Linked DNA regions of Homo sapiens: region 1 is linked to region 2. Evidence: promoter capture Hi-C in 16 types of primary human blood cells and fetal thymus (Javierre and others, 2016). All regions are on one chromosome and are shown on one strand. The core of a region is centred on a gene start or on the middle of the fragment in contact, and the rest is flanking DNA. Distances in the headings are between cores, read along the strand shown. Region 1 holds the start of KRTAP2-1 (keratin associated protein 2-1). Region 2 holds the start of KRTAP17-1 (keratin associated protein 17-1).

Region 1 (5,200 bases), core at 2,394-4,893, 270 kb after region 2:
ACTATATATATAATATATTATATATATTTTACTATATATAATATATTATATATATTTTACTATATATATTATATTATATATATTTTACTATATATATAATATATTATATATATTTTACTATATATGTAATATATTATATATATTTTACTATATATGTAATATATATGTACCATATTATCGGGGAACCTGCCCCGATAATCACGTATGTTCTTTTCTATTTTCCTAAGCATCGGCTGGCTTGAGAAATAAAGGGACAGAGAACAAAAGAGAGAAACTTTAAAGCTGGGTGTCCGGGGGAGACATCACATTTTGGTAGGATCCGTGATGCCCCACAAGCCACAAAAACCAGCAAGTTTTTATTAGGGAGTTTCAAAAGGGGAGAGAGTATACGAATAGGTGTGAGTGACAGACATCAAGTACTTAACAGGGTAATGCAATATCACAAGGCAAGTGGAGGCAGGGCGAGATCAGAGGACCACAGGACCGAGGTGAAATTAAAATTGCTAATGAAGTTTTGGGCACCACTGTCATTGATAACATCTTATCAGGAGACAGGGTTTTGAGATCAACCGGTCTGACCAAAAGTTATTAGGTGGGAATTTCCTCTTCCTAATAAGCCTGGGAGCGCTATGGGAGACTGGAGTTTATTTCACCTCTGCAATCTCGACCATAAGAGACAGGTACACCCCGGGGGGGCCAGTTCAGAGACCTACCCCTAGGTGCGCATTCTCTTTCTCAGGGACGTTCCACGCTGAGAAAAAGAATTCAGCGATGTTTCTCCCATTTGCTTTTGAAAGAAGAGAAATATGGCTCTGTTCTGCCCGGCTCACCAGCGGTCAGAGTTTAAGATTATCTCTCTTATTCCCTGAACAATTGCTGTTATTCTGTTCTTTTTTCAGGGTGCCCACATTTCATATTGCTCAAACAGACATGCTGTACAATTTTTGTAGTTAATGCAATTATTACAGGGTCCTGGAATGATATACATCCTCCTCAACTGACAGGATTAAGAGATTAAAGTAAAGACAGGCATAGGAAATCACAAGGGTATTGATTGGGGAAGTGATAAGTGTCCATGAAATCTTTACAATTTATGTTTAGAGATTTCAGTAAAGACAGGCATAAGAAATTACAAAAGTATTAATTTGAGGAACTAATAAATGTCCATAAAATCTTCACAATCCACGTTCTTCTGTCATGGCTTCAGTCAGTCCCTCCGTTTGGGGTTCCTGACTTCCCGCAACACCATATACATATATAGTATACATACATATATACTGTATACATATATACTATACATATTTTACTATATATGTAATACATATGTATATATACATATATACTATATATATTTTACTATATATATAGTAAAAGGTCATGTTACTATATATGTGTATATATGTGTGTATATATATATTTACTATATATATATATATTTAACAAATACAAGACACTAAGTGCCAGACATTGTTTGTTCTTAGCACTTGACAAATATTAGCTCATGTAATCCTTACAATTCTGATATGAACTATTATTATGGCCCAAGGACACACAGCCAGTAAGTGGCAGAGCTTTAAATGAGCATTGTCCAGTTTCAGAATAAGTGGGGTCAGAAAATAGGATGTGACTTGCCACCAAGTGTCAAACCGCAGAGCTGTCTGTGCTCTTACAACTCTGAGGCATGAATAACTGAAGCATGACCCATATTTTCTCTGCCTGAAAACGAAGTTTGGCTATGGGGTGTGGATAAGTGTCTTAGAGTGAATAAACACTAGAAAGGTTACTGAGTGATGCACAGATTATCTTTTTGGACCTTTATAAAGGGGAGACAGATCCTTATAAAGGGGAGAGACAGATCTTTATAAAGGGGAGAGACAGATCTCTTTAGAATGACCTTGGGTTTGAAGTTTCTGCAGTAGAGAAATGAGTCTTGTTAATGTGATGATTTAAGTCTTCCAAAGAGGCTCCCATTGCATAAAATGTGATTATCATGAAGACTCCACAGCAGCATGAAAATAAATTATGAGATAATATGTCTCGAAAAGAGCAGAATATACAACTTTTTACCTAGTTACCTCTGGTTACCACTTTGAAAAACAAAAATCCCACGTCCGTAAACAAAGAAAAGAATGTAAAACAGGAGAGTCAAAGGTCTCTAGCGATGAGATTGTGCCTGATATCTCCCTCTTCTGTTTCCCTAATTGTGACTACCGGGTCCAGTCAATTTACATTCCTCTTAAAGTTTTGAAATTATGCTTGAAATTCCATTTGGGGAGCTTTAGATGTCCGGCCCCAAGGCACATTCTTTCAAATAAAGAAAATGATCCCGAAGTGATTCAAAACCCTGTCTGGTGACTAACAGGAGGAGTAAAGCTGGAAAGTAATGGGACTGTTTCCCCCATGTAGTTCCTGAACTGCCCCTGGCAACACTTCCTGAAGAAGCGCATCCATCACGCTTTTAGCAGTGCCACAGCAGAACACTGGGCAGCCTCCCAATGCGTCTACCCCTGAACAGTGTTCTGGATATGTGTGCAATGTTGGTTGAAAACCCCTTTCTTGTCACTTGCTAATCAGAGCACCTATGTCAAAGTATATATGCATATTTCTTTTTTGAGATGGAGTCTCACTCTGTAGCCCAAGCTGGAGTGCAATGGCATGATCTCGGCTCACTGCAACCTCCGCCTTTGGGGCTCAAGTGATTCTCGTTCCCCAGCCTCCGGCACAGCTGGGACTACAGGCACTGCCACCACACCCAGCTAATTTTTTGTATTTTATTAGAGTTGAGGTTTCACCATGTTGCCCAGGGTGGTCTTGAACTCCTGAGCTCAGGTGATCCACCTGCCTTGGCCTCCCCAGGTGTTGGGATTACAGGCATGAGCCACTGCGCCCGGCCAACAAGGTATATTCAGAAAAATTTCCCATTACAGAATTCTTCATTACATGCACAAGAAAGGCAACGCTAAAAAATGACATGTTTCAGAGATAAAAATCAGCATCTTATGACAGAAAGACCAGAGTTGCACAGAACCTGAACTAGAGAAAAGAAAACATGCAAGGCAGTCTTGGAGGTTTTATTCCAACACTTAGTGGTTTGCAAAAATTTTTGTCTGTCCTGTACAACTCTATGAGCTGCTATCCTATTCAAGGCCTATGTATCCCACTATATCAAGTGATAATCAAACGTATTCCCAAGCAGACTACGTGGGAGGGCTTGTCTAACACTCGTGTGATTCACGTTTCACATGTAGGTGCTTCCAAGGACTTGAGTCCCCTATTGGGGTCAGGATAGGCTCTACTCAATGTTCTATGTACTTCTCTATGTTTTTAATTTCTTTTAAAAACTGAAGTTTTTTTAGACCGTTTTGTCCAGATTTGATCCAGTGTTATCTACTCAAAATAAGCATCAAGAGCTACTATCACCTCAAATGACGATGAGTTCTTAGATTTTCACCCAATGTGAGTACATCCATACTTAGAGATAAAACAAGAGCTCTTTAGTGAGATAATGAGTGTGTCACAAGCAACCATTAGTCAAAACAAAATTCTACTTAATTGGCCAAAAGGTAAACGAAAAGGGTCACCTGCACCCGGCCAGGGTATATAAAGGGCCCAGAGGGGGAGGAGGACATTCACACCTGAGAACATCCAGCTCCTCTCCACAGCCCAACCCACACCAGCCTCAGACACCACCATGACCGGCTCCTGCTGCGGCTCCACCTTCTCCTCCCTGAGCTACGGGGGAGGCTGCTGCCAGCCCTGCTGCTGCCGCGACCCCTGCTGCTGCCGCCCCGTGACCTGCCAGACCACCGTGTGCCGCCCCGTGACCTGCGTGCCCCGCTGCACGCGCCCCATCTGCGAGCCCTGCCGCCGCCCGGTGTGCTGCGACCCCTGCTCCCTGCAGGAAGGCTGCTGCCGCCCCATCACCTGCTGCCCCTCGTCGTGCACGGCTGTGGTGTGCAGGCCCTGCTGCTGGGCCACCACCTGCTGCCAGCCTGTGTCTGTGCAGTCCCCCTGCTGCCGGCCCCCCTGCGGCCAGCCGACCCCTTGCAGCACCACCTGCAGGACCTCCTCCTGCTGAGCCACCACCTGCTGCCAGCCTGTGTCTGTGCAGTCCCCCTGCGGCCAGCCGACCCCTTGCAGCACCACCTGCAGGACCTCCTCCTGCTGAGCAGTGCACTGACTGCCCGGAACGCGTAACTCACCTTCTGAAAAAGTCACACTCCCATTTCTCTACTTTAACAAACCTCCTGCCCTGAGCCCACAAAACCCCACATCAACCAAGCAGGGAACCGAGCACTGGGCTCATCTATTAAGACCTGGGCCATTCTGAAGTCTGTAAAAGAAGCAATTTCCTTCTTCTTAAGATTTCGTGGCATGTTTATTTTCTAATAAATATCTGTTCTTTGGCCTTGCAAAAAGATTTGGTTTTATTTACTCATTCTAATATTTTGTATTAAATTAATTTTTTAATTAAAAAAACTGACACATAATTGTACATATTTATGGGGTGCAATGTAATGTTTCCATACATGTATACGTTGTGTAATAATCAAGTCAGGGTGTTTAGCATATTCGTCACCTCATACATTTATCATTTCTTCATGGTAAGATCATTTAAAATATTCTCTGATCGCTATTTTGAAATATATGATAAAATATTACTAACCACAGTCACCCTACTGTACATTAGAATACCAAAACTTATCCCTCCTATCTACCTGTAACTTTGTACCTGTAGACCAATCTCTGCCTATCCTCCCCTCCTCTCACCCTCCCCAGCCTCTGGTAGTCACTATTCTACTCTCTACTTCTATGAGATCAACTTCTTTAGATTTCACATAGGAGTGAGTGAATGTGCTATTTGTCTTTCTGTGCCTGGTTAATTTCACTTAACATAATGTCCCCCAGGTTCATCCATGTTGCTGCACATGACAGTATTTCATTCTTTTTCATGGCTGATAGTATTTCATTGTGTGTTTGGGTGTGAGTGTGTGTCACATTTTCTTTATCCATTCATCCATTGATGAACACTTAGATTGTTTTCATATGTTGGCTGTTGTGAATCGTGCTGCAATAAACATGGAAGTGCAGAAATCTCCTCAACATACTGATTTCATTTCCTTTGCGTATATACTCAGTAGTGGGATTCCTGGATCACATGATCGTCCTATTTTTAATTTTTGGGGAACCCTCCATACTG
Region 2 (4,971 bases), core at 1,707-4,206:
GTTTGAATCAAATGGAAATTTCATAGCCTTCAAGAGGCTGGCAACAGGTTCATGGTGGGAATTTGCTGAAATATACATGGTTCTCTCTTACTCTTGGCCCTATCATCCCTCTCATGGCATCAACCAAGATATTAGAGTTCTTTTAGTCCACAAAAGAACTACATCCTCTACGTCTACATCCTCTCATTACCCCATCCAGGCGGCTAGATGGACCTGGTCATCTGACCACCCACTCTCCTGCATTGCAAAAGTCTACTTTGAATTGTATAAGCTAAGCATTGACCTAAGTCATTCTCTCTGCATTTCTACAGTAATAACCCTACCCTGGGGGCAGTAAATATAAAAAGTCCCTACTGCTGCCCAATTTGTGTGGAAAGACCAACAGTGAAATAAATTGCAGAAGAAAAATAACACCACCATGAGGACTTCAAGTCCTCATCATGACATGTACATTTACACAATTGAAATCATAGTGTATAATTTGAGTTGCACACTGAATGTTGTACTTAATCTGAGTAAATGCTCATGAGTATATGAATTGTTAAATATAAAAGTATGATAATTTATATTTTCAAGTTGTTCAAACAACCAAGTGTTCAATATGTATACATTTATATTTACTCATTTAATCAAAACAGCTCTACGACACTGCTACTATTATTATCCTAATTTCTGTTTTATAGATGAAGAAATTCAGGTACACAGGGGTTAAGTAATTATGGGAGCAGCGAGGGGGTGGGTGAGAGGCAGGAGAACTGAATGGTGAGACATTGGAAGATGAGGAAGACTTTCTACTCTTTTGTACCTTTTATCCTGGGAATGCTTGACCTCTTATTAAAATAAATAAATATGTAAAAGGATGTGTCGGCCGGGTGCAGTGGCTCACGCCTGTAATCCCAGCACTTCGGGAGGCCGAGGCGGGCAGATCACTTGAGGTCAGGAGATCCAGACCAGCCTGTGCGACATGGCGAAACCCTGTCTCTACTAAAAATACAGCAATTAGCTGGGCTTGTTGGTGCGTGCCTGTAATCCCAGGTACTTGGGAGGCTAAGTCAGGAGCATCGTTTGAGCCCAGGAGGCGGAAGTTGCCATGAGCCAAGATCAAGCTACTGCGCTCCAGCCTGGGCAGCAGAGTGAGACTCCATCTCAAAAAAACAAACAAACAAACAAAAAAGGACACGTCTGCCATAGACATTGCTGTATTATACTCACTCAGAGGTGCCCATCTGTGGATGTGGTATGGTGGAAGAAACAGTGGACCAGGAGGGAGAACATCTGGGCCATGGGTCCAATCTACCACGGATGTGTCATCTCTGGGCCTTGGTATCATCTTCTGTAAAACACAAGTGCTTGGCAGTGATGGTCATGATAGGATTAGATTATATCAGTGTTTCCTAATGTAACCCAAGTTACCTGAGAAAGTTTAAAATATATAGCTTCTCAAGCTCTCATAAGCACACATTCTGATTTATCATAAGGACTGGAATACAGTTTGGGAATCTGTATTTTTCAAAAGGCCCCCTTTTAGGCAATTCTGATATAAAACCCTGGACCAGATGATGTTTCAGGGGTTCCTCCCAGCTCTAAAATTCCATATCCTGTGAAGTATTGAGTATCATATCAGATCCAAGTAACTCATTCATCATTTACCCTCCCGACTCCCACCCTGTCCTTAGTTCTTCTAGCCCTTCTTAGAGGCTGTCTTACTTCTAGCCCATCTTACAAAGAAAGGGAAATGAAAAGGGAAGGACTAGATCCCTTGATCCAGATCCTTACTCCCATCCCTCCTTCCATTCCCACCCCACCCCTATCTTCTGTCCTCTACCCCTACTAGATGTTGTATTCCAGCTCCAGGGCTGCCATGGGCACTCCAAGAGGAGAACAAGGTACCAAAGTCCAAGAAAGAGACAGAAATTTTGACCCATCTCAAAATTTACACATGGACCTGAACCATCTGTAGATTTTAGACTCCTTGCAAAGGCATTTTATTCCTTGGGATGACACTCTGGGTATTTTGTATTCTAATTTCTCCTTCTGCCAGATGGTCTATAAGGTTCGAACTCTTAAAAAAAGTGCGTTACATTCCCATTTTAATGTAGCATTTTGGATATTTACTGATCTCCTTCCTGCTTTCTTCTTTCTTTTCTTCTTTCCTTTCTTCCTCCCCTTCTCCTCTTCTTCCTCCTCCTGCATCTCTTCCTTCCCCGGTCAAGGAAAGGCCTGGGGCTGGAGTGGGGGTGGGTAGAGGGTTCTGATCTCAGTTCTTCCCACCTATTTAGAGAGAAGTGCGAATATTCAGCTCACCTTGCCGCCGAGACAGACCATGCCTTACCAGCTTCTTGCAGCTTTACGATGAGTCTCTCTCGGTTTCACAGGGCAGTTATTACTCATGACTGATGCTCACCGGCCAAGCCTAAACGTGTGGCACACTCCCCATACCACACACAGACACAAACATTTGCCTGGCTCACATGAACCGGGATGAGGATGCCATTTCCACCTGGGAGGAGCCACGTGACCAGGCGTTCTCAGTAGCCTCCACTGGTGTCAGGGGGAACAGAGCATTCGGCTGTTGCCGGTCTGCCTTTCCAGGACTAGCATCCATGGAAGATGGGGTCCATCGCCAACCTGCGAAGATGTGGAAGGCAAGCCCCTCATTCCAGAGCCAGAAGCTGTGGCCGGCTTCCCCTTCCCATCTCCAACCTGGGCTAATGACAGCTGGCAGATGCTTGGCCATGATGACAGGTCTTTTCGAAGATGTATTTTTACCCTCTGGATAAACAGCAGTTGGCAGGAGTGGGGCGTTTTTATGAGTTGAGGTACTCAGGACTGGAAAATAAACAGCCAGTTAATGAGCCGGTCTTATGGAAACTTGCATAAATAATAACAAAGAAAACATCCCGTCCCTCATGCCTGGGTGAGGGGATATAAAAGCTGCCATCCAGATGGCTGGCCACCGTCAGTCGTGGGGAACTCCGGCTGCGTTACCGACCTGCGAGCTGACGGGCCCGGACCATGGGGTGCTGCCCGGGGGACTGCTTCACCTGCTGCACCCAGGAGCAAAACTGCTGTGAAGAGTGCTGCTGTCAGCCGGGCTGCTGTGGCTGCTGCGGCTCCTGCTGTGGCTGTGGGGGCTCTGGCTGCGGGGGCTCTGGCTGCGGGGGCAGCTGCTGCGGATCGTCTTGCTGTGGATCTGGCTGCGGAGGCTGTGGAGGCTGCGGAGGCTGCGGGGGTGGCTGCTGTGGATCCAGTTGCTGTGGGTCCAGTTGCTGCGGCTCCGGGTGCTGTGGGCCTGTGTGCTGCCAGCCCACACCTATATGCGACACAAAATGAAGACCTTTCCCTCCACCACTGATGCAGTCCCACCGAAAGCCTCCATCTGCTCCAGGGGGACAGCCCCTCGTGTCCAGAACCTTCCATACCCCCAAGACAGTGTCTTGTCTTTCTGTGATTTGTAGAGGAGGGCTTGTTCTCCAACACCTTCTCTGGTATTTCAAGGCACCGAGAACAAGAGCCATACTCTGATGAAACATTAAAACTCGGTCACAACTAAGTGATCCCAAGCTCAAGGGTGAATCCCCAATACTTTACTTATTCACATGAAGTTCAATGTCTTGTACTATAAGACATCCTCTTCTTCAAGGTGTCTTTGGGACTGATCCTCCGCCCTGGCTTTCTGCAGCTTTGAGATGCAAAAAAGGTCCATCTTCTTTGTGAGCCTCTTAATAAATTTGAGCATGCTGGCATAACCTAATTAGTTCTCTTGCCTCTTCCTTGACCTCCCTGCTGAGGACTGGGTTAGAAAAATTCACTCTGGCATCTGCCTTAGGGTTTTTGAATTGTGGTTTTTGGATCACCTGCGTCGGAATCACCTGGGAGCTTGTTAAAACTGGAGACTCTGAGGCCCTCCCTAAGACATACAGAATCAGAATCCACCAAAGTGTGGCCTGGGAATCTGTGTTTTTAACAAGAACCTTAGATAATTCTTATGCACTGAAGTTTGAGAACCATAGATCTAGACGGAAGCTTCCGTGTGCTGCATGAGATTCACTTGAAAAGCTTTTAAAAATATAGATCATTGGGTTTTATCACTGGAGATTTTACCCGTTAGCTCTAGGGCCTAGAGTCCCTAGGGACCTGCATTTTTAAAAGCTCCTGGGTGAATGCTGATGCTGGCCACATTTAATGGTGATTGAGGGGCATGGCTTTCTTCTGCACTACAGCTCTCCTAGGATGGTTCTGCAGGAGGGCTTCAGGCTTGATCAGAACTTTCTGGCAAAGTCGGAAAGGAGGCTTTGGTAAAACAAGATTGGTTCTGAATGGAAAGGATTTCTAATGGCAAAGCTAGTGAATTCACAGTTTCTGAGGATGTTCTGCGCAGTACAGTTCCTTCTTCCAGCCTCATGCTTGGTCCAGTCTCACTTTTCTGTGCTAGGTTGTCTTACCTGGAACCAGCTACGTTTCTTCTGCCTGAGTTCTAAGGAGGAGGGAGTGAGTATACCTCTGCTAGGTAGGGCCCAGCCAAGGTGTGTGGGTCCACCTGGGAGGTTAAAACTCAAAAGACAGTTGATCAACCTTTTGTTGAAAGTGACCTTAAGCTGTGTGTGTAATAAAACTAATTTTGCTCTTGCCCTGGAAAAATAGTATTTATTTTTATGCCTACAAAGCGATGTTTCATTTGACAAAGAAAAATTTTTTTCTGATTATAAGCATAGCAATGAACTCTAAAAAATGAAAAAATACAGAAACATATAAAGAATATAGCATTCGAAGGCTCACCACTCAGAGTCTATTACTGATAAGCTTTCCAGACTGTTTTCTAAGCATAGTTATGAATAAAACTGGGATTATGTTGCTTTTACCTTTTTCTTTAAAAAATTTTTTTGTTTCATTTTTTATGGTCAACTTTATTGAAATATAATTTACATATAATAAAAAGTTCCCATTTTTAGTGAACAGTATGATGTGATC

Evidence for each region. The method cuts DNA at HindIII sites, captures the fragments that hold promoters and counts their contacts. A CHiCAGO score of 5 or more calls a contact.
Region 1: the fragment with the promoter of KRTAP2-1 here is called in contact with the fragment with the promoter of KRTAP17-1 in region 2 in 5 of 17 cell types (M2 macrophages, total B cells, M0 macrophages and 2 more); the score reaches 7.1 in M2 macrophages.

What each region holds. Positions count from the first base shown.
Region 1 is chr17:41,045,759-41,050,958 of GRCh38, reverse strand. It overlaps KRTAP2-1 (keratin associated protein 2-1), which reads left to right and starts at 3,643. Exons shown (of 1, transcript NM_001123387.1): 1 at 3,643-4,418. The coding sequence starts at 3,692. The coding sequence ends at 4,078. The HindIII fragment of the contact is 11,978 bases long and covers 1-5,200 here.
Region 2 is chr17:41,313,695-41,318,665 of GRCh38, reverse strand. KRTAP17-1 (keratin associated protein 17-1) reads left to right here and starts at 2,956. Exons shown (of 1, transcript NM_031964.2): 1 at 2,956-3,754. The coding sequence starts at 3,016. The coding sequence ends at 3,333. The HindIII fragment of the contact is 4,540 bases long and covers 1-4,028 here.